Regions from separate parts of the Homo sapiens genome. Here all the other regions are linked to region 1. Evidence: promoter capture Hi-C in 16 types of primary human blood cells and fetal thymus (Javierre and others, 2016). All regions are on one chromosome and are shown on one strand. Each heading gives the region's core, a stretch centred on a gene start or on the middle of the fragment in contact. The rest is flanking DNA. Distances are from core to core; before and after follow the strand shown.

Region 1 (3,391 bases), core at 410-2,909:
AGCACTTGACAGTTTCCAACCTCATCATCACTGAAGTTTAGAGCAGCCGATACCCATAAAGATGATCTCCCCATCCCCCTACAGTTACCCACTGTGCAGAGGGAGATCCACACTTAGAGACAGGAAGCGATTTCCAGAAGTCCATAGCAACTCAGTCCCAGGAATCTAGGTTTCCTGACCAGGGCATAGCAGAAAGGGTCCATTCCTTTCCTTGCTTGTACCTTCACAGAAGCTTCCTGGACAGAGCCCTGGGGTCCAGGAGACCTGTTATTCATTCCCGGCTATGCTGAGACTTGCTGAGTGACCTTGGGGACTCCTTCTAGAGAATATAAGTTCCACGAGTGCAGGAATTTTTGTCTATTAGTCCTTGATGTATCTCCAGCCCTAGAACAGTGTTTGGCCCATACTATGTGCCCAAAAAATATCCATTAAATGACTGAATGTTGCTGTGCATGGTGGTGCATGCCTGTAATCCCAGCACTTTGGGAAGCTGAGGCAGAAGGATTGCTTAAGCCCAGGAGTTAGAGACCAGCTTGGACAACATAGTGAGACCGCATCTCGTAAAAATTTTTAAAAATAAAAAATGAGTGAATATCTAGATAGCCAGGATTAGAGAAGTGTCACAGTCAGAAAGCCTGAAGCCTAAAGAAGACCAAGGAACCAGGGGCTTTATCCTCAGATACATGAAAGCCTGAAATTCTGTCCACAAGTATTTATAGAGGGCCCGTAATGTTCTTGGTACTGGGCTAGGAACTCCCCAGATTCAGTTAAGAACAAAGTCATTACCTGGCCTCAGATGCAAGGCAGGGGCTGGGGGGTGTGAGTGGCAGGGAGGCAGCGTGATCAATACAAACACTTTTCTTAGCCTGAGCTGCCCTGACATGGTCTGACGGCTCACAAGGTGGTGAGTGCAGCCGGGCTGCAGTGTTCAAGGAGGGCGCCGGCTGGCCGCCCACCTGTCAGAGGCTGCGCCAGAAGGATGCGGAAGAAGAGATTTCTGCCTTGGCTGAGGTCACTTCCCACCCCCAGATTCCCTGCCCACACAACCCTGCAATTTTCTGACGCTGACGACTCGGATCCTATTATTTCCCGATTTTCAAGGTCCCATGATGCTGACAGCCCCAAATGCTAAGTCGTCAGTCCGCCCACGCCCTGGACCCGAAAGCAATAAAGGCGAGGTCAGCAAGGGTCCTACCACCCACTGCCTCGAAAGGCCTCTGGGGGTGGTCGGCGCGCCCCTCCCCACCTCGCGGGGGCCGTGTGGGCGTCGCTCGGTCGTTGGGGTGCCGGGGACGTCGTGATGAGAACGGCGTCCCAGAGACGGCGGTGACAGAGCCGGGACACGTGACAGTCACAGGGTCACATTCTGCGGTCCACGAGTTTGGGACCGGGCTGGTCACGTGACGCGGTGGGGGCACCATGGGGTGATGTGAGATGCGGGTGTCTCGGATTACGTACAAATGACGTATTCCTACCCCTTTTGGCAACCAGATTTCCGTTGGAAGATGCAACGGTTCCGGTGACGGTAGCAAGTTCTCGCGTCCAGGCATCTCCGCTTCCGCTCGGGGCGCAACAACTTCCGACTCCACCTTCCCAGCCTCGGGCAAGGAAGAGACGCGACCATGTGCGCATGCCCCGAATTTATCACGGAGGGGCGGGGCTGAGGCTGCGGGAGCTGGAGCGGGGAAGAAAAGGGAATTCCAACCTGTGGAACCTTGGGGGGTCCCCGGGGTCGGCGCCTTCCCATTGACTGTGGGCGGTGCAAGGGACGGAGCCTCTGGCGGCTCGTGGGGGTGTTGGGGTCCGCAGGGGGAGGGAGGGGAGTGTCAGAGTGTGAGCGGGGTACGGGAATTCCAAATTTGAGGGCCTCCCGGCTCTGGCGCCGGGGAGGGAGAGCTCAGGCCGCCATGCGGGACAGGACCCACGAGCTGAGACAGGTGAGACGCCAGGGCAGCGGGGATGGGGACGGGCGGACGAACTGGAACGCAGGACTTCTGGTCTTCGGGATAGGGAGGGGTGGCTGATGGCCAGGAAGGAAAGTCCCGGAAGCCTGTGGGTCCTGCGGGGTAAGAGCCGCAGCGAAACGGTGGTGCCAATGACTCCGGGCCTGGCAGGGGGATGACAGCTCGGACGAAGAGGACAAGGAGCGGGTCGCGCTGGTGGTGCACCCGGGCACGGCACGGCTGGGGAGCCCGGACGAGGAGTTCTTCCACAAGGTAAGGGGCTGGGGTCTCCGCCTGGATTCGCGAGGGTGTAGGAGGACCCGAGGAGTAGCGTGGTCTGGAGTACCCCATATCTCTTTCAGCCCTCTCGGTCACCCTCCCCAGGTCCGGACAATTCGGCAGACTATTGTCAAACTGGGGAATAAAGTCCAGGAGTTGGAGAAACAGCAGGTCACCATCCTGGCCACGCCCCTTCCCGAGGAGAGTGAGTGAAACCCCGGCTGCAGGGCGCATGCTCCGCCCCAGGGATTGTGGGGGTTGTAGTTCCACGCAGGTGGTGGCCAGAGTGGTTTGTTGAGGTGGGGGCTGCTGTTTGGGAGTCTTGGCCTTCTCTTATTCAGGCATGAAGCAGGAGCTGCAGAACCTGCGCGATGAGATCAAACAGCTGGGGAGGGAGATCCGCCTGCAGCTGAAGGGTGAGCTCCTGGGACCTCAGACAGATCCTTCCCTCTGATCCTGCCCTGTTGTTGGTATATCTGGGGAGTGTGTGGCCCAGAGAAGCCAGTGATATATCCAGGTCACACAGCAGGCCTGGGTCTAGCATCTGTCTCCTGGCCTCCAGGCCATTGTACTCTCCACAGCACAAGTCCGCCTCTCAGGTTCTTTTATTTACAATGAAACCATTTACTTACACAGTTATCGCTGCCCACTGGGCATTCTTTGGGCAGGGAGATGGAGTTTTGTTAGGTGGCCTCTGCATACCTATGGGAACTCAGTGATGTAATGCAAAGAAAAATAAACTTACTTTCTCCTCTTAGAGGCTCAGCCTTAGTCATTTTATGATAAATTATATTTCCCTAAAAATCCTATGGAGACAAGTACCCCCAATACCCCTGTGTCTTCCCACAGCCATAGAGCCCCAGAAGGAGGAAGCTGATGAGAACTATAACTCCGTCAACACAAGAATGAGAAAAACCCAGGTGGGTTTTTTTTCTCAGAAATGAGGACATTTCAGCAAATGTTTCATGAAGTATTAGATGACAGGTGTATGAAGGAAGGGCCTGCAGAGATCATGGAGTCCAATTGGATGACTTTTCCAAATGGGGAAACTGAGCTCAGAGAGAGAAAGAACTTGCTCAAGGTCAGGAAGCCAGGTCTCCTGATGCTCAGTCCGGTTATAACACCCTGCTTTATTTTCTTCCATTCAATAGGAAGTTACTGTGACCCCA
Region 2 (3,361 bases), core at 441-2,940, 370 kb after region 1:
TGGTGCACACCTGTAGTCCCAGCTACTCAGGAGACTGAGGTGGGAGAATTGCCTGAGCCTGGGGAGGTCGAGGCTGCACTGACCTGTGATCACACCACCACACTCCAGCCTGGGTGACAGTGAGACTCTGCCTCAAAAAAACAAAAAATGAAAAAACCAGAGGCCTCAGCCAATGCCTGGGGGGCTCAGAGTGCAGCTGGCCCTTCAGACGCTGAACCAGTCATCGGTAAAGGTTTCCTCCAGGGGCAGGAGGTGTCCCAGTGGGCAACAGTTCCCCTCTGCCTAGCGTGATTCCTGGGAAGGGACTCAGCTCAGAGCCAACTCCACGTAGCTGGAAATAAGGACCTCTGACCGACTGGGGGTAGGGTGGGGTCTGGGGTGGATCCCTGCCCCACCCCCACAGCATCCCTACAGGCATATCCTACAGGCCTCGAAGGTGCCTGGCACGTGGTGAGAATGGTGCCAGCGGCTGACCCTGGCAGAGGGCCAGGACTTGTCTCCAGCACCCATGTGCGTGTTGCTTTATCCTTGCAGTGATCCCACGTGGTAGCCACTGATATTACCTTCATTTTACAGATAGGGACACTGAAGTCCAGAGAAGTTAAGTAATGTGCCTGAATTCACCAATTAGCACGTGGCTGAGCTGGGGTTTAGCCCAGGCACACTGGCTCCAGAACACGCGCCCTGAACCACTTTGCTAAACATTCGCCCTTGATGCTTGTGGCACCCCTAGCATCTGTGTTTAATGAATATTTGTTGATTAAATGGATGAGGAGCCCACCTGGGTCCTGTGTTGTCATCCCTCTCTTTCCAGGCCATGTGGGAGGAAGGGAGCAGGGGGCTGGGGTGGCAGACTGGGGCCTCCTCCAAGGAGGGGTCGGAAACTAGGTGGGGATGCCAAGAACAGCCCCCGGGCTCTGTTGAGCAGGAGCTGCAGGAGGGGGTTGGGCCCCCGCAGTGCATCTCCGATTCCTCCCCATTCCCCCACAGAGTGTCCACATCAAGAGATGGACATCGTCTTCCTGATTGACGGCTCTGGAAGCATTGACCAAAATGACTTTAACCAGATGAAGGGCTTTGTCCAAGCTGTCATGGGCCAGTTTGAGGGCACTGACACCCTGGTGAAGACTGGGCACCTGGGGCTGGGGTTTGGGGGACGGGGGAGGCTGGCCTCGGGGAGGCATCCCGGGAGGGGTGGGGGCAGGCCAGTGAGCCGTGTGTGATGGGGCTGGGGTGGAGAATGAAGCTATGGTCCCAGCACAGGCCCAACTTGAGCCCTGACCTAGGAGGCCCTCTTGGCATTTAATAATGTATCCAAAAGCTACAGGAAATACAATGTTTCTGCTGTTTAAAAACATTGAAAGTGTTTAAAAAATAATTTTGCTATGGAATTTGACTGACATATTTTCTATGTAACTAATGATTTCTTTTTATTATTTTATTTTCCCATAACTAGTGCCTATGTATGTGCAAAAAAACCCCACTGTTTTGTTTTTTAAACAGGGTCTTGTTCTGTCATCCAGGCTGCAGTGTGGGGGTGCAATCATAGCTCACTGCAGACTTGATCTCCCAGGCTCAAGTGATCCTCTTTCCTCAGCCTCCTGAGTAGATGGGACTACAGGTGCATGCCACCATGCCTGGCTAATTTTTAAAAATTTTTATTGTAGAGATGGGGTCTTGTTATATTGCCCAACCTGGTCTCCAACTCCTGGCTCAAACAACCCTCCCACCTTGGCCTCTCAAAGTGCTGGGATTACAGGCATGAGTCACTACGCCCAGCCACAAATTCTTGAGAAGGGAGGAAATACACAAATTGATTTAATGTGTGATAAAATTTTTAAAAAGCTAAGGGTAGCAAATATTGTGGTTGGCAAAGTTATTTTTAATAAACTGTGAAGGAAATATCATTTGGTTTAGATTTTCCAGTTTATATTTTGTATTTTTGGGCCAATGAATTTTCTTCTCTGGGTTTCAGTATATTATTTGTAGGGCTTCAAAACACATGGGAAATGGTTTGTAAATCCAAAATAATTCCAAAATAAAGTTTATTAAAACTGAAAACAATATGGCTTGGTGTGGTGGCTCACACCTGTAATCCCAGCACTTTGGGAGGCTGAGGTGGGAGTATTGCTTGAGGCCAAGAGTTCGAGACCAGCCTGGGCAACATAGTGAGACCTTGTCTCTACCAAAAACAAAACAAAACAAAAAACAAAGCCAGGCATGTGACGTGTGCCTGTAGTTCCAGCTACTTGGAGGCTGAGGCAGGAGGATCACTTGAGGCCAGGAGTTTGAGAGACCCTGTCTCTACAAAAAATTAAAATAAAAACAATAGTAACAGGCACTGAGCCCTGGGCCCTCCCCACTGGCCTTTGCAGTTTGCACTGATGCAGTACTCAAACCTCCTGAAGATCCACTTCACCTTCACCCAATTCCGGACCAGCCCGAGCCAGCAGAGCCTGGTGGATCCCATCGTCCAACTGAAAGGCCTGACGTTCACGGCCACGGGCATCCTGACAGTGGTGTAAGCAACCCCGACCCCAGCCTGGCGATGTGACTGCCACCCCCACTTCCTAACCCTGGGTCAGCACAGCTCTTCTCAGAGGCTGAGGGAGGCTCCAGGGAAAGGGGCTACCAAGGGGCATGTCGGGGCTGCAGGGAGAACCTCCCCCCGGGGTGCTCCTGGTTGCCTCGCTGCCAGTCTCCCTGATATAGGACTAGGCTCCTCTGCAGCTATGCCTCCCCTTTGCCTGGTTCTGCAGAGCCTGGACCCCAGGACCCCTCCCCACCCCACAGCAGCCAGAGGCCCGGGCTTTGGCTCAGACACATCAGGCTCCCATCCTGGCTCCCCGTGAGCTACTCTGGGTGTAACCCTGGGGTGATGGGCTCTAAGTCTCAGTAACTCTCAGATGAAGATAAGCTCACAGCTTAGGATTGAGATCATGTGTGTGGGGTGCTCAGCCCGGGGCACGTAGGAGGTGTCGGATAAATGCCTGAGGTTTTATCAGAGAATGGAGTAGTCAGGGACTCAGGAATTGTCACCCAAGGTCGTCCTGGTGCCTTTCTCCCCACTCACCTCCTCTCCCGCATCCCTCACCCCTGCGCACCCCCTGTGCTACCCAGGCACTCACCGTGGGCCTGCCCCGTGCACATGCAGTCTATTCCTAAAACGATGTAGGAGGTGGGACCCCCGAGAAAGGCATGTGGTTCTTGTAGGAAGGAGCTGGGCTGACGGTCGGGGATCCTTGGCTTCCTGCACACACCCCTGGGAGCAGCCCTGGGGTGGTGCTAGAATTTGGCTTAAACAAGAGATGCTCCCACCAAACGCACCCTCTTTACTTCTGGGAGGCTCTTCTGCCTTGAA
Region 3 (3,364 bases), core at 606-3,105, 410 kb after region 1:
ACTTAATCACCTCGTAAAGGCCTCATCTCTTAATATTGTTACAATGGCAATTAAATTTCAACATGAGTTGGAGGGGATGTTCAAACCATAGCACTCTCAATAAAAAATTATACAATAGGCAGGGCGAGGTAGTTCCCTCCTATAATCCCAGCACTTTGGGAAGCCAAGGTGGGCGGATTACCTGAGGCAAGGAGTTCGAGACCAGCCCAGCCAACATGGCAGAACACTGTCTCTACTAAAAATACAAAAATTAGCTGGGCATAGTGACACACACCTCTAATCCCAGCTACTCGAGAGGCTGAGGCACAAGAATCCCTTGAACCTGGGAGGCAGAGGTTGCAGTGGGTTGCGATTGTGTCTCTGCACTCCAGCCTCAGTGACAGAGGGAGACTCTGTCTCAAAAAAAAAAAAATTAAAAATTAAAAAAATATATGTATATATACAAGGTAGATATTGAATATCTGCATGCAAAAGAATGAATTTGGATCCCTATATCACAATACATATAAAAGTTAACTCAAATTGAATCATAGAACTAAAAGTTAGGACTCTTAGAATCTTTATAACTTTGAATTAAGCAATGCTTTCTTAGATATGACACCAAAAGCACAAGCAACAAAAGAAAAAAATACAGAAACTGAACACCATCAAAATTGAAACCTCTTGCGCTTCATATGACATTATTCTTTAATTTTTTTCTTTTTCTTTCCAAATACCCAGACGTCAGGGAGATTCACAGGACATTATTAAGAAAAAGAGAAGATAAAAAAGAAAAGGAGAAGATAACCCACAGAGCAGGTAAAAATCTTTGCTAATCATATATCTGGGAAGGGATTTGTACCTAGACTGTATAAAGAACTATTGCAACTCAATGATAAAAAAGACAAATAATCCAATTTAAAAATGGAATTAGGCTGGGCACGGTGGCTCACGCCTGTAATCCCAGCACTTTGGGAGGCTGAGGTGGGCGGATCACCTGAGGTCAGGAGTTTGAGAACAGTCTGGACAACATGGTGAAACCCTGTCTCTACTAAAAGTACAAAAATTAGCCAGGCATGGTGGCATGTGCCTGTAATCCCAGCTACTCGGGAGGCTGAGACAGGAGAATCACTTGAACCCGGGAGGCAGAGGTCACAGTGAGAAGAGATCACGCCACTGCACTCCAGCCTAGGCGAGAGAGCAAGACTCAGTCTCAAAAAACAAAAAAAGGAAAGAAAGAAAGAAATCAGTCGAGTGTGGTGGCCTGCACCTCTAGTCCCAGCTACTCGGAAGGCTGAGAATCACTTGAACCATGGAGGTGGAGGCTGCAGTAAGCCGAAATTGTGCCACTGCACTCCTGGGCAACAGAGGAGTCCTTGTCTCAAGAAAAAGAAAGAAAAAGAAAAAAAATTAAATGGGCAAATGACTTGAATAGACAGTTCAAAGAAGTTATATAAATGGCCAATAATTACATGAAAAGATCCTCAACATCATTAGTCCTCAGAAAAATGCAAATCAAAACTACAACGAGGTGCCACATCATACATATTAGGATGGTGATAATAAAAAAGACAGGTAATTACGCCAGTAGTGGCGGCTCATGCCTGTAATCCCATCACTTTGAGAGGCTGAGGTGGGCGAATCACCTGGGCTCAGGAGTTCGAGACCAGCCTGGTGAACATGGTGAAACCTAGTCTGTACTAAAAACACACAAAAAATTAGCCAGGCATGGTGGCGGGTGCCTGTAGTCCCAGCTACTCAGGAGGCTGAGGCAGGAGAATCACTTGAACCTGGCAGGTGAAGGCTGAAGTGAGCTGAGATCACGCCACTGCACTCCAGCCTGGGAAACAGATGGAGACTCTATCTCAAATAATAATAACATTATTATTATTTTTAAAAATAATATTTAAAAAACATTAAAATTTTTTTTTTAAATAATATTTTTAAAAATGATATTTTTTAAATGATAATATTTACAGGCAGTGGCTCACACTTGTAATCCCAGCACTTTGGGAGGCCGAGGTGGGCGGATCACCTGAGCTCAGGAGTTTGAGACCAGCCTGGCCAACTTGGTGAAACCCTGTCTCTACTAAAAATACAAACATTTGCTGGGCGTGGTGACAGGCGCCTATAATCCCAGTCACTTGGGAGGCTGAGGCAGGAGAATCACTTGAACCTGGGAGGCGTAGGTTGCAGTGAGCTGAGATCACGCCACTGCACTCCAGCCTGGTGACAGAGTGAGATTCCGACTCAAAAAAAAAAAAGCTGAAAAGACAGTTAATTAACAAGTTTTTGTGAGAATGTGGAGAGATTGGAACCCTCACACATGGCTGGTTGGAACGTAAAATCATTCATTAACTTTGGAAAATGGTCTGGCAGTTCCTCAGATGTTTAAACATAGAGTTATATGATCCAGCAATTTCCCTTCTAGATATGTAACCAAAAGAAATAAAAGCATATTCCACAAAAACCTTGTACGTGAGTATTCATAGCAGCATTATTCATAATAGCCCGAGTGGAAACAACCCAAATGTCTGTCAACTGATGATTGAAGAAAGTGGCATATCCATGTCTTAGTCTGTTTTGTGCTGCATCGTAGAATGCCTAAGGCTGGATAATTTATAAAGAATAGAAATATCTTTCTTTCAGTTCTAGAGGTTGGGAAGTCGAAGGTCAAGGGCCCTGCATCTGGTGAGGGCCTTCTTTCTGCCTCATCCCACAGCAGAAAGCGGAAGGGCAAGACAGTGCAAGAGAGGGGGTGGGTGGGGGCAGAACCCATCCATTTATCTATCAGCTGTCCACTCCCTTGATAACTAACCTACTCATGCAATAATGCCATTAATCCATTCATGAGGGAAGAGCTCACATAACCTAATCACTTCTTAAAGTTCCCACCTCTCAACAGTTGAATTGGAGGTTAAGTTTCCAACACATGAACTTTAGGGGACAGGTTCAAACCACAGCAATCCATAAAGTGAAACTGTATTATTCCTAATAAAAAGAAATGAGATACTACAGTGTGGATGAACCTTGATAACATTATGCTATATGAAAGAAGCCAGACACGAATGACCACACATTGTATGATTCCATTTATATGACATGTCCAGAATAGGTCATCTGTAGAGATAAGATGTAGATTAGTGGTTGCCTAGGGTTGGGGTATAGGGGGTGTTATGGACTGAATGTTTGTATCGCCCCCAAATTTATACATTGTTTAACCCCCAGTGTGACTGTATTTGAAGACAGGGACTGGCTGGGCATGGTGCCTCACGCCTGTAATCCCTGAACTTTGGGAGGTCAAGGCAAGCAGATCACCTGAGGTCAGGAGTTCAAGACCAGCCTGGCCAACAAGGTGAAACACCGTCTCTACTAAAAATTCCAA
Region 4 (3,550 bases), core at 110-2,609, 350 kb after region 1:
AGCACTGAGGCCTGGGGCCAGGACAAGAAGTTAACCAGAGTAGGGTTGTGAATATCCCTCTCTTGGAAGTAACCTGACCTCTTAATCTGCTCACTCCACTCTCAGGGCTGGTGCCGATGGTAAGCTGGTGGAGCTGTCGGGTGGAGGGGGCATAGAATAGAGAAGGGACAACCTCCAGTGGCTACTTTTCCACCTGGAAAGGTCTCTGGAGTGACCAATACTCACAAGCGTTTCCTACAAGTCCTAGGATGTGTTGAAGGGCACACTGTCTGCATATAGTGAGTGATTGAAGAACATGTTGGGGTCCCACATTGAGAGCTGCTGCCCACAATAAGGTCATTCTTGCTATTATGCCACCATCCTGGCATAAAGTTCATCATGGTGCTTGGCACTGAGCTGGGGGCCTCACAGGACAAGCCATTCCTGACCTCGGAGTGACGCCACTGCAGCTATCACCAGCAAGGGACCCGGGCCGTGTGGATGTTTCAATTAGAAAAACAGAAGGGAGGCAGTTGAGTGATTTGAAGGGAAGATGGAAAGTGGCCCTTTACCTCCAGCCAAAAATGTCTGTCCTATACATCAGCAGAGGCTCCAAAATCCCTGTGGATTTTGAAGCTTTTGAGTCCCCAGGATGACTAATTATTATGCAGTTTCCTCAGAAAGGGAATCAGAAGATAAGGCTTTGTAAGAATTCAGCCCTAATGGCTGGGCACAGTGGCTCATGCCTGTAATCCCAGCACTTTGGGAGGCCGAGGCAGGAGGATTGTTTGTGCTCAGAAATTTGAGACCACCCTGGGTAATATATTGAAACCTTGTGTCTACAAAAAAATTTAAAAATTACCCAGGCATGGTGGCATGTGCTTGTAGTCCCAGCTACTTGGTAGGCTGAAGCAGGAGGATCACTTGAGCCTGGGAGGTTGAGGATACAGTGAGCTGTGATTTGGACCACCACACTCCAGCCTGGGCAACAGAGAAAGATCATGTCTCAGAAAAAAAAAAAAAAATTGACCCTAGAGTGGTGTTTCTCAAAATGTGTTCCACGAACCACTGGTGGTCAATGATGGTCTTCTAAGTGGAAGGTTTTAGAGAAAAAGAGCAAGAAACCCATACATCTCAAACATTTGAAACTAGTGATTTGCACAGAAATAGTGTTGTGGCCTTAATAATTGTGTGGCACACGGACTCCAGGGACTACAGTGGGTTCTTGTCTAAATTCAGGCAACAAGTTGTTATTTTCTATTTTATTTTATTATTATTATTTTTTGAGATAGTCTCACTTTGTCTCCCGGGCTGGAGTGTAGTGGCACGATCTCGGCTCAACGCAACCTCTGTCTCCTGGGTTCAAGTGATGCCTCTGCCTCAGCCTCCCAAGTAGCTGGGAGTACAGGGGCGTACCACCATGCCCATTTTTATTTATTTATTTTTGAGACAGAGTCTCGCTCTGTCACCCAGGCTGGAGTGCAGTGGCATGATCTTGGCTCACTGCAACCTCCGCCTCCCAGGTTCAAGTTCAAGCGATTCTCCTGCCTCAGCCTCTGGAGTAGCTGGGATTACAGGCAGGCACCACCATTTCCAGCTAATTTTTGTATTTTTAGTATAGATGGGGTTTCACCATGTTGACTAGGCTGGTCTCGAACTCCTGACCTCATGATCCGCCCTCCTCGGCCTCCGAAAGTGCTGGGATTAGAGGTATGAGCCACTGTACTTGGCCGACAAGGTGTTATTTTCTGATATTCTTCCTTTGTGTGTTATTGTGTACATTTATTACATTTGCATTTTCAGGGTTGGCTATTGTGTTGCATTAGATCCCCGAATCACAAAATGGATCAATGGCTCAAAAGCATGGAAGTTGTGATTAAAAACTAATCTAATTGCTACAATTTACAATAATGTCATCAAAGTCAATATTGACTTTTAAATATTGAGCCCAGTGCACGTATAGTATAGACATGCATACCGGAATAAGTGATTGTGAGCCAAAACCCGAAAATATCTAGAAGGTATTATACTCCCTGACAGGTAGGTTGTATTGGTTCTGACATGTATTTGTCCCTAGTGTGCTGCCCATTCTGAAACTTTATCAAACAGTCGCATGAACCTCTGAAAGCTTTTGTGTTATTTTCTTATTTATTTATTTATTGAGATGGAGTCTTGCTCTGTCGCCCAGGCTGGAGTGCAGTGGCATCATCTTGGCTCACTGCAACCTTTGCCTCCTGGGTTCAAGTGATTCTCCTGCCTCAGCCTCTTGAGTAGCTGGGATTACAGGCGCGCACCACCACGCCCAGCTAATTTTTGTATTTTTAGTATAGACGGGGGTTTCACCATGTTGGTCAGGCTGGTCTCGAACCCCTGACCTCATGATCTGCCTGCCTCAGGTAAAGCAATAGAGATTTCTTAGAACAACTGCTACATGTAGCTTTCCTATTCAAAAGTGATTAGTGTTGTCACCGAATACAGAGGAGACAGCAAAACCACAGTGACATAAATCAAAGGTGCTTTTTAAAGTAGCAAAAGTAGGTACAAGTCACATAATTTCCAAGAAGCTTGTAGAAATGGCAGTAGAGTTCATACCTGTATTGAAAGGTTGCTTTTGGCTGCAAATAATAGAAAAAAACAAAAGCATGTAAGAGCAGACAGAAGACCTTTACTCTGCAAGAGGTTCAGGTGCAGGTTAGTGTTTAATGCAGAGTCTCAGCATTGACAGATTCTTTCTGATCTTCCAATTGATCGTCCTTGCGGGGGCGGTTTAGTTCTTTCCCACTGACTAGGATTGGGTCAAATTCCATCCCCTTGGTTGCATGCAGTGCTGAGAAGGTGAGCATGTGCTTTTCACAGGCTTAATAAAAAGAGGTAGCTCCAGCCAGGTGCAGTGACTCATGCCTATAATCTCAGCACTTTGGGAGGCAGAGGTGGGTAGGTCACCTGAGGTCAGGAGATTGAGACCAGCCTGACCAACATGGCAAAACTCTGTCTCTACCGAAAATACAAAAATTAGCTGGGCATGGTGGCAGGTGCCTGTAATCCCAGCTACTTGGGAGGCTGAGGCAGGAGAATCGCTTGAACCTGAGAGGTGGAAGTTACAGTGAGCTGAGGTCATGCCACTGCACTCCAGCCTGGGGGACAGAGTAGAACTCTGTCTCAACAAAAAAAAAAAAAAAAAGAGAAAAAAAAAGGAGGGTAGCTCCACCAGCCAGGAAGGTGGCAGCGCTGGTGGCTGTTGGATAGGCTACCTACAGTGTCTGGCAAATACTATGCTTGAAGACTATGCTGTGAGCAAGATTCCTTTGTGAAGGAACAGCTTGGACATTGTGTATGTCAGAGGTATACAGCAGAATAGCAGTGACTAACGCTTGTGTGGGAGAGCAAGCATGTCACCTCATACTTGGAATAAGTCACTGCCATACAAAGTCTGAATCAGCTTTCATCTTTGTGCAACACATGTATGTGGGAGCTTTTCAGCTGCTGAAACCTCTAGTGACAGAAAAGGAGGTTTTGTTGTTCATTTGTAATTAATGTTAATCCTATGAGTGGTGGGAGAGATAGTGAGGTA
Region 5 (3,081 bases), core at 13-2,512, 320 kb after region 1:
TATAACCCACTTTCTAAAATGAAAATGTGAAGATCTCAGTCCCCATGAATTCCCTTCAATGCTGTCCTCCACTCTCAGGACAAAATCAATGTGTCTTCACCAGGTGTGGTGGCTCACACCTGTGATCCCAGCAATTTAGGAGGCTGAGGCAGGAGGATTGATTGAGATCAGGAGTTTGAGACCAGCCTGGCCAACATGGGGAAACTCTGTCTCTACTAAAATTAAAAAATATATATATATAAATATATATATATATTCAGGTGCAGTGGTGCAATCCTATAGTCCTGGCTACTCAGGAGGCTGAGGCAGGAGGATCCCTTGGGCCCAGGAGTTCGAAGCAGCAGTGAACTATGCACCCACTGCACTCCAGCCTGGGTGGCAGAGCAAGACCCTGTTTCTGAAATTAAAAAAAAAAATTGATGTACATTAGGGGGGCTTCCACGGCCTGAGGCCTGCTTCCCCTTGCTTTCCTCCCAGTGGCCCTGACCTTGTCTCTTACAACTTCCCACCCTGACTGTCTGGTTCCCATTGCTGATTTCACACACAGACCCTCCTGTCCCCTGCCTCATCCATGTCTGGCTGCTCTGTCATCTCCCAACTTTGGTTGCTTTCAATGCTCAGCTCAAGCACCACCTCTTTCAGGAAGCCTTCTCAGAAAGCCACACCTTCACAACCCGGGTGAGGCACCCTGTGGTCTCTGTGCTTCCCCCTCACAGCAATGAACTTGCTGTTTATACATCTGCCTCTCCACTGACCCCAGGGCTGGTGCTTTGTGGTTTATATTTTCTTCCCCACCTAGCAGAGGGCTTGCATCTCCAGGCTCAAATTAGGCTTCTTGAATAAATGATGAATAAATGAGTGAATGAATGAATGAACAAATACTCGCTCTGTGCTCCTCCTAGGGACCCGGATGCCCCACTCCTTGGCCCAGACTTTCCAGGTCAGAGTGGAGGGCTCCCACCAGGGTTTCCTTTAGGGTCCTGAGGGGTTGGCATCTGCCCAAACCCCCTCCAGTCTGGCTGAAATTTCAAGGTCAAGGGGTGCCTTCTGGCAGTCAAGGGTGAGCCTGGGAGGGGCAGGGCAGGGATTTGCATCCATCTAAGCAAAGGGCATCAAGCCAAGTCATCTGATGAGAGTGACTCCGGTTGGGGGGTGGGGGCGTGTGGGAGGCCGAGCCTGTCCTCGGATCAGTTGCGTACTCTGCCCGCCCCCTCTGACTCATGCTGACAATCTTCTTCCTTCCCCTGGCCACCTCTCTGCCCACTTGCTTCCTCAGTACCTTGGTCCAGCTCTTCCTGCAACGGCCCAGGAGCTCAGAGCTCCACATCTGACCTTCTAGTCATGACCAGGACCAGGGCAGCACTCCTCCTGTTCACAGGTGAGCCTGGACCCCAATGAAGTAGGGCTGGGGACCCAGGCCCAAGGGAGCCAGGGCCCTGAACTGGGGGCTCAGGCTGGGGGGTTAGGATCTGGGTAGGAAGAGAGACTCAGTCAAGCCTGAGGGGGAGGCAGGCACATAGGGTCTGAGATTTGGAGTTTGTGGAGGGAGAGGATATTGATGAACCAATTTTGGGAGAGTTCCAGAGATGCTGGAAGAGAGGCCAGTTGTCTCTGTACTGCAGAGATTTTTAAAATAGGCAGAATGCGCCAACTTGTGCTCTGTGGACAGGATGCTTTGGTCCGCAAGTTTTCCTGGACTCACTCTCATAGCGCCCGAGGTGCACGTTGGGGAAAGATCCTTTTTAGAGCCTGGGTACTGCTCTGCAGAAATGGAGAACTGCAACTCGATAGTGGATGGTGGGCAAGGGGCATCCCTGGACCCTGGGAAGGAGAGAAGGGGATGAGTTGGGTGTCCAGAAGACCCAGGCACCCCGGGCATCAGGCTCGGAGGGGAGATTGGGACGCTGGGGCCGGGGGTGGAGGGCAGCCAGGCAGAAGGAAGACCCTTCTCCAAAGCTCTCTTCCCACCTCTTTCCCAGCCTTAGCAACTTCTCTAGGTTTCAACTTGGACACAGAGGAGCTGACAGCCTTCCGTGTGGACAGCGCTGGGTTTGGAGACAGCGTGGTCCAGTATGCCAACTCCTGGTGAGGCCCAGGTGGTGCTGGCCTTTGGCTCCATCCATCCTCTCCCTGCTCAGGGCCCCATGCCCCCGGCCCTGCCCTGTTATTTGCAAACTCTCCTCTCTGTCTGGTGTAGCGACTGCCCTGGCTAATGAAGATTTGCCTTGAAGGCAGGCACGGTCTCACAGCTAACATTTACAGAGCAGTAAGTGCAGTGCCAGGCTCATCACAGGTGGATGCTGATTTAGTCCACACGACAGCCTGTGAGTAGGAATCAGTCGTGCAACAAACACTTATTTGTTTTTTCTTTCTTTTTTTCTATACATTTAAAAATATATAGAGACAGGGTCTCACTATGTTGCCTGGGTTGGTCTCAAACTCCTGGGCTCAAGCAATCCTCCCGCCTCAGCCTCCCAAAGTGCTGGGATTCCAGGTGTGAGCCACCACACCCAGACTCAACAAATATTTCTTGTCTCCATACGCCAGAGAATCCAACAGACAGAAATCCCTTCCACATGGACTTTAAATTATTAAAATCCATCTTGCAGATGAGGAAGCTGAGGCTCAGGGAGGGAACGCAAACTTGCCGGAGTGGCAGCTGTGCTGCAGCGTCCACACTCTTACCTAAAGTGTTCTTTGTCTCCTCGCAGGGTGGTGGTTGGAGCCCCCCAAAAGATAACAGCTGCCAACCAAACGGGTGGCCTCTACCAGTGTGGCTACAGCACTGGTGCCTGTGAGCCCATCGGCCTGCAGGGTGAGTCACCGCCCCTCCCGGGACCCAGGGCCGGGCTCCCAGGCTTCCCTGCTCCAGGGGCCCGTGGACTCACCGGAGTGTCACTTTCAGCTTCCACTGTGTCTGAGACCCTCACCCTCAGATATGCTTCCTGGCCCCTTAAGGCCTCCCCGCCCATCGCACTCCCGCAGCTCTGTCAAGACCCGACAGCTTCCTTCACCGTCAGACCTCCTTGTCTCCCAGGTGGAGGTGACCCCTGCCCAGCTCTTCCACAGCCTTCTCTGTAC
Region 6 (3,181 bases), core at 71-2,570, 300 kb after region 1:
TGTGAGTTCCTGGAGCTTCACCCCACTGGGCAGTTCTCGGAGGCAGTGCAGAACACGCACCTCAGTATCACCCCACCCAGGGGAGAAGGCTGGAGCGCATAGACACCGATTCCACTTAGCTATTGGATGAGGGCTGCTCTTGGTGGGGAGAGTGTGTTAATTTCCTACCACTTCTGGCCTGCCCTGAGTGTGAGGAGAGTGGGCTCTAGTGGCCAGAGAAAGTGATACCAGTGCTGCTGGCTGGATGTTTGACAGGTGAACACAGCCCCTGACACGGTGCCTTTGGTTCAGGTCAGGGCACCAGGAGCACTTGCTGCCAAGGTGTGTGCAGGTGACATTTTGGTGGCTGCTTCCTCAGAGGGAGGATGCCCAGTGCCTGTCCCTCATACTTTGCAAACACAGTAAACACTAGCCTGGCCTGAACATACATCCTCTCTAATCCTCACACCAGTCCTTGGTATTTACATGAATTTCACTTATGAGGAAACCTAGGCTTAGATAGATCATACCAGTTGCCTGAGGTCATACAGCTGGGAAGGAATGGAGCTAGGAGTTAATCCCAGCTCTGCCTAGGTCTAAAGCTTTTCTCTTTTACTGTCCTGACAGCCTCAGAGGAATGGCCCCAGAACAGGCATGAGGGAGTGTGGGGAGAGGGTGGCTGTTATTTAACTGTTATGATATTGGGTTAAAGCATATGAAATTGATGACATGTTTTTGGACAAAAATGTTTCTTTCTTTTCTTTCTTTCTTTCTCTTTCTCTCTTTTCTTTCTCTCTCTCTTTCTTTCTCCTTCTTTCTTTCTTTCTCCTTCTTTCTTTCTTTCCCTTCCTTCCTTCCTTCCTTTCCTTCCTTCCTTCCTTCCTTCCTTCCTTCCTCCTTCCTTCCTTCCTTCCTTCCTCCTTCCTTCCTTCCTTCCTTCCTTTCTTTTTTCTTTCTTTCTTTCCTTCCTTCCTTCCTTCCTTCCTTCCTTCCTTCCTTCCTTCCTTCCTTCTTTCTTTCTTTCTTTCTTTCTTTCTTTCTTTCTTTCTTTCTTTCTTTCTTTCTTTCTTTCTTTCTTTCTTTCTTTCTTTTTTTTCATGGAGTCTTGTTCTGTCGCCCAGACTGGAGTACAGTAGTGTGATCTCAGCTCACTACAACCTCTCCCTCCCGGGTTCAAGTGATTATCTTGCCTCAGCCTCCTGAGTAGCTGGGATTACAGGCGTGCACCACAATGTCTGGCTAATTTTTTTTTTTTGTATTTTTGGTAGAGATGGGGTTCCACCATGTTGGCCAGGCTGGTCTTGAACTCCTGACCTCAGGTGATCCATCTGCCTTGGCCTCCCGAAATGCTGGGATTACAGGTGTGAGTCACTGTGCCCAGCCAAAAAATGGTAATTTCATGATCTTCATTGAAATACAAGAAAATCATGGCTTAGAGGGACACTTGTTTCACATGTGGCAGGAGGAGAGAGGGCTTACTCCTTAGGGAGGTGAAGGAAGGGTCCCCAAGGGAGGTGACACCTGACTGAAGCAGGGCCAGAAGATCTCCAGGCAGAAGGGAGGGCAGGGGAGGCTGGGAGAGTGGGCAGGGCTTGGGCATGAGTGCTTTGTAAGCCAGAGTGAGTAGTTCCAATTTCACTCAAAGTGAAGTGAGATGCCCTCAAAAGGTGGCTAATGAGACAATGGCCCTTTGTATCTGTGGGGGTGACACAAAACACGGTCACCTTTAGACGGTTCTTTGCTATTTCCTCTCCTGACTTAAATAAAGTCTGTTAAGAATTTCTGTGTTTCCTTATGTTGAAAGATAAAAGTCCTCAATATCTGCAGAAGTCCTGAATTGCTCCGGGAACAGAGAGAGTTCTGTACCTTTAGTCGCCTGTCCTTTCACCCTCCATGTCTGTAGTCGCCTGTCCTTGCAGCCTCCATGCTGGTCCTTGTAGCCTTCGTACCTAGTTGCTTGTCCTGGCAGCCTCCATACCTGTAGTTGCCTGTCCTTGCAGCCTCCGTGCCTGTAGCCGCCAGTCTTTGCAGGGCAGTTAAAGTCCTGTGAACTCAGAGTTCACCTCCGCGTCTTCAAATGAGAAGCTTGTGTTGAATTCAGCCAGATAGGAGCTTTATGATGGGTTAGAAAAGTCAATCATTTCAAGCGACAGATTTCCCTAGCATGACCACAAAGTGACTAATAAACAGGACCATAAATCTGGTGATAAGTGGCCAAGTCCAGGAACGTCTGCTTGCTTTTATTTTTGGGGATTTCTCACTTCAGAATAAATGAATCCCTTCAGTATCCACTCTCCTTTTCCTACTTAGAGTAGAATCTTAATTTGGGCCACCATGGGAGATGGTTACAATTCTGACTCCCAGTGAATGGTGCTTCCCGGCCCTACACCCTTGCAGTGTGACATTGCTGTCCCTGACATCACATGGTGCGGCCTGTCTACCTCTTTGAATCTGGGCTGGTCCCGTGGTTTGCTTTGATTAATAGAATACAGTAGGAGTGTGGTCGTGTGAGTTCTGGAGCCTAGACCTTTAGGAGCACAGCAGATCCTGCCCTGCACCCCTCGGAACACTGAGGTCACCACGCCGTGATCCATATGGCCCACTGGAGAAAGAGTGGACTCATGGAGGAGACAGCGGAGGCCACTGCCACTGTGCATGCATGAGGCTGCTGTGATCCTTCCATCCAGCTGTCCAACACCTGCAGCCACTGGAGAGTCCCACAGAACTGCCTGGATTGTCACCTCATGCAACTGTGAGAAATAATCAATTACTGATGTCTCAGTCCTGCGTGGTGGTTTGTTACGCTGCAATGGATATTGCGTATAGCCCCTTAGTTATAGGGTTCGTCTCCCCACCTCCTGTGCAGCTGGTGTGGCTGCCTGGCGAGGTTCTGGCTGATGGGATGTGAGCAGCAGTGAAGCGAGCAACTTCGGAGCCAGGTCCTTTGAGGGAAGAAGTGTCGTTTCTTTTCACCACCTTCCCGCTGGCTGGAGTGTCAGCATCACGGTGCACAATTTTGGACCCTGAAGATGAGTTTGACATCGAAGAATGCAAGAGTGGAACAGAGGAGGCTGGGTCCCGCCTCTGCGGAGGCACCATGTCAGCCCTGGACTCCATATTCTCATGCCATTACAGGAGAGAGATGAGAACACTGGTCTTGTTGAAAACACTATCACTCAGAGCCTCCGATACAGCAGTTTAT
Region 7 (3,172 bases), core at 176-2,675, 470 kb after region 1:
GGGATGTGGCCAGACTGATGCTACGAATGGAAAGCGCTTTTCCTTAGATCTATTAGGTTGGCTCAAATGTAATTGCGGGTTTTCCATTACCTTTAATGGCAATAACGACAAAGAAACCCCGCAATTACTTTTGCACCAGCCTAATAAATATCCCCTGCGAGCAGTAGTGAAAGACAAAGGACAGTGGCAAAAGCCATGGGGCCTCCTCGTGTAGAACATGTAACAATTTCCCTTTTCTGTTCTATTTCCCTCTCTGGGTGGCATGGTACCAAACTGTATTTTTTTTCCTTAAACAATTTTTTAAAAGCTGTACATATTCAGCAGATAGTCACTCTATTATTTACAGCATCATCTGGTATCCCAGAGCATACACAATACCTTCCATTCTTTCCAGGCTCTCCTCTCTCCTTCTCAGGACCAACTATATCTTTTTTTTCTGGAGCTCACCAATTTCCCCTATCCTGGGCAGCTGGCAGTTTTATTCCATCAATTGCATTCTTATGCAATCTTCCACAAAGAGAATAGGGATAAAGGGGAGGGGACGGGATTTGGGATCCAGATGATTGAGACTCAGAAGTCTGTGTGGGGAATGGAGTGCGGCTGCTAGGCTGGTGAGTGGGATGAGGGTCTTCCAGATGTGGGAAGTAAGACTGGGTTACAAAGCACCACTCTAATCACTGGGGAGACCTGCCTGAATTCTACCTAATGGGGCACGAGTCCATACATATATACACATAAGAGCCCAGCGAAAGCAGGGCTGAAAGCAGCAATACGTGAGGCTCCAGGGGTGCAGCTCACCTTTCACGAGCCAGGTGGCCGTGGCAGCTGAAACAGTGGCTTTTGCGTTCCCCACCCCTATGCCCAGCAAGACTGCCTGGGTGGCTAGGGAGCCGGAGAGGCTGGAAGCAAACGCCTGGAGAAGAAAACAAGTAGGGTGAGAAGCGGGCGTAGGAGCGTGGCGGTCTAAGTGCCTTCATCTGTTCTTGTTCTTGGTGTATGAGGCATGTCAGACCCCCCGCCCCCCGGGCTCCGAGTCTCAGTCACCCGTCCATTATTGGGGAGGGAGGAGTGGCCTGCACTGTCCTCTGCCCCAGACGACCGAGCTGACCTGCACGGAATCCCACAGCTGGTAGGGCAAGTAGTCCGGGCTGACGCTATCAGGGAAGCCCTGAGGCAGGAACACGGCCTGGAGCCCGGAGAGGGGCGGTGAGGGGGCCCCGGAAGCCCCCACTTCGCCCGCATCTCGTCCTTCAGGTTTGACCGTGAAGGCCCTGGAGAGCCCCCACCAGCGCCAGCCCCCGACCTCCCACTGCAGGCTCCCGTCCGCGGCGGCGCGGCAGCCCCGTGCCTCCCCGGAGCCGAACTGCTCGGAACACAGCGGGGTCTCCAAACCCGCGTCGTCAGCCATGCCGAGCTTTTGGATCCCAGCCCCGCCCCTGCCGCACGGTGGACGTGGCAGGCGGCACTTCCGGCTGGGCTACCGCGGCTGCAGAGGGACATCTTTCAAGAACAGGCGCCGGCCTCGGCGTCCGCCGCGCAGTTAGGAAACTGACTGTCGCTCTCTCCGGCCTCGGCGCTGCTTCGGACGCCCCGGCACCGGCCCCCGTTGCTTTGTAGCATTCTGCAGCTGGGCTGCAGGCGCCGTGGGCCTCCGCCAGTTGTGTTCGAGACGCGGTTCGGCCACAGAAGTTTTAGCTTGTGACTTTTGGCAAGTCAGTGGCCCTCTCTGGGCCTCAGGTGCCTTTTTTGCTGTGAGACCAGCGACTGTATTTTTAACCCTGATTTTATCCCTAGATCTACCCAACACATAGTAGGTGCTCAAAAGATATTTATGAGTGAATGAATGCATCATGAGAAGAAATTGGACCAGATGAGGCCCTGTGAAGCTGCTTGGGTCTTTTTTTGTTCTTTTTTTTTTCTCTCTTCTGAGTGTCCCTGGCCTGGACTAGAAATTCTCCATCCTTCGGCCTTCTGCGAGACTGCAGGAACATTACTTTTGAAGGATGCTAAGGAATCCGAGGGATGAAAAAAATCAAGAGATTGCAATGATGTCACAAAACAAGGAAACAAGGCAGGAAGTTCTTGTGTGTTTTTTTGCGGGAGAGAGTCCATGAAATTGGGGGGAGTCCAAAGAGGGAGTGTTTCTGTCCTTGGAACTCACCTTTTCTTCTTTCCATTTCTCCTCTTCTCCTTCCCATCTAGTGCAGCATCTTCACTCCGAAGCAGAAATTTGCCAAAAAAGCATCCTCTTTTTATCAGAAAATAAAATATCCTGGTTTCTTAGCCTGGCATTCTTGGATCCCCACAGTTTGATCCCAACCGACAACTCCTTATTTGAAACTTCAGATTCTCCCAAACCGTCACCTTCCTCGTGGACTTAATCCTGGAAGGCCCTTCTACCCCACTTCGCCTTATCTCACACAAACACAGTCTCTCTCTGACTGAGATAAACTTGAACACTTCTTTTCTTTTCTTTTTTTTTTTCTTTAAATTTCGGGTTTCAAAATACAAATGGCCTAATCACAACATTTCTGTAATGTTGTCTAAATTCAGGTACTGGTTTGAATAGAGGACAAAAATAAAACAAGGTTTGAAGACTAAGTACTTTAAAAACATATTTATTTAAATAGAGGCAGGGCCTCCCTATGTTGCCCAGGCTGCTCTCAAACTCCTGGCCTCAAAAGTGATCCTTGGGCTGGGCGTGGTGGCTCACGCCTGTAATTCCAGCACTTTGGGAAGTCGAGCCAGGTGGATCACTTGAGGTCAGGAGTTTAAGACCAGCCTGGCCAACATGTTGAAACCCCATCTCTACTAAAAATACAAAAATTAGCTGGGCGTGGGGGTGGTGTGGCCATAATCCCAGCTATCCGGGAGGCGGAGGCAAGAAAATCGCTTGAACCGTGCAGTTGTCATTAACTCCGTGTTTGTTATCTCTTTTTTACCAATGGTTTGCCAGTTTCTTCTACAAATACCTGTTGCTACCTATGTGCTCATTGGGATAGTGAGCAAAAACAAACAAGGGTCTTGGTCTTTTGGAACTTATATTAGGGAAGGATATTGATCAAATCATACAAATAAATGCAAAGTTGGAACTATTTCAATTGCTGTAGAGGGGTACATGTTATTTAATATGAGGACTTTTAGAAGGAGAATTGAGCTAATCAGTGGAATC

The links. The method cuts DNA at HindIII sites, captures the fragments that hold promoters and counts their contacts. A CHiCAGO score of 5 or more calls a contact.
Region 2: a contact is called between a fragment that was not itself captured here and the fragment with the promoter of STX4 in region 1, in 2 of 17 cell types (total CD8 T cells and naive CD8 T cells). The highest score is 5.5, in total CD8 T cells.
Region 3: a contact is called between a fragment that was not itself captured here and the fragment with the promoter of STX4 in region 1, in 14 of 17 cell types (naive CD4 T cells, naive CD8 T cells, total CD8 T cells and 11 more). The highest score is 9.8, in naive CD4 T cells.
Region 4: a contact is called between a fragment that was not itself captured here and the fragment with the promoter of STX4 in region 1, in 1 of 17 cell types (monocytes). The highest score is 6.3, in monocytes.
Region 5: a contact is called between the fragment with the promoter of ITGAX here and the fragment with the promoter of STX4 in region 1, in 2 of 17 cell types (neutrophils and monocytes). The highest score is 9.4, in neutrophils.
Region 6: a contact is called between a fragment that was not itself captured here and the fragment with the promoter of STX4 in region 1, in 1 of 17 cell types (monocytes). The highest score is 5.4, in monocytes.
Region 7: the fragment with the promoter of RUSF1 here is called in contact with the fragment with the promoter of STX4 in region 1 in 1 of 17 cell types (monocytes); the score reaches 5.2 in monocytes.

What each region holds. Positions count from the first base shown.
Region 1 is chr16:31,031,899-31,035,289 of GRCh38, forward strand. STX4 (syntaxin 4) reads left to right here and starts at 1,660. Exons shown (of 11, transcript NM_004604.5): 1 at 1,660-1,937; 2 at 2,115-2,216; 3 at 2,328-2,427; 4 at 2,564-2,638; 5 at 3,072-3,142. The coding sequence starts at 1,908. RefSeq lists enhancers at 984-1,495, 2,008-2,518. The HindIII fragment of the contact is 4,602 bases long and covers 231-3,391 here.
Region 2 is chr16:31,401,125-31,404,485 of GRCh38, forward strand. It overlaps ITGAD (integrin subunit alpha D), which reads left to right. Exons shown (of 30, transcript NM_005353.3): 6 at 991-1,121; 7 at 2,376-2,521. Among named protein-coding and RNA genes, the nearest start is that of ITGAD, 9.5 kb to the left of the region's middle. The HindIII fragment of the contact is 7,259 bases long and covers 1-3,361 here.
Region 3 is chr16:31,446,477-31,449,840 of GRCh38, forward strand. No RefSeq gene overlaps it. Among named protein-coding and RNA genes, the nearest start is that of ZNF843, 5.4 kb to the left of the region's middle. The HindIII fragment of the contact is 6,267 bases long and covers 1-3,364 here.
Region 4 is chr16:31,383,056-31,386,605 of GRCh38, forward strand. No RefSeq gene overlaps it. Among named protein-coding and RNA genes, the nearest start is that of ITGAD, 8.5 kb to the right of the region's middle. RefSeq lists an enhancer at 1-53. The HindIII fragment of the contact is 1,492 bases long and covers 614-2,105 here.
Region 5 is chr16:31,353,914-31,356,994 of GRCh38, forward strand. It overlaps ITGAX (integrin subunit alpha X), which reads left to right and starts at 1,263. Exons shown (of 30, transcript NM_000887.5): 1 at 1,263-1,378; 2 at 1,980-2,085; 3 at 2,712-2,815. The coding sequence starts at 1,342. RefSeq lists enhancers at 525-654, 845-1,034. The HindIII fragment of the contact is 18,983 bases long and covers 1-3,081 here.
Region 6 is chr16:31,333,682-31,336,862 of GRCh38, forward strand. No RefSeq gene overlaps it. Among named protein-coding and RNA genes, the nearest start is that of ITGAX, 20 kb to the right of the region's middle. The HindIII fragment of the contact is 1,483 bases long and covers 580-2,062 here.
Region 7 is chr16:31,506,966-31,510,137 of GRCh38, forward strand. It overlaps RUSF1 (RUS family member 1), which reads right to left and starts at 1,426. Exons shown (of 13, transcript NM_022744.4): 1 at 1,109-1,426; 2 at 799-913. The coding sequence starts at 1,408. It overlaps RUSF1-DT (RUSF1 divergent transcript), which reads left to right and starts at 1,499. Exons shown (of 2, transcript NR_186401.1): 1 at 1,499-2,071; 2 at 2,208-2,601. RefSeq lists enhancers at 412-1,127, 1,128-1,842, 1,407-1,976 and silencers at 1,137-1,196, 1,257-1,306. The HindIII fragment of the contact is 29,640 bases long and covers 1-3,172 here.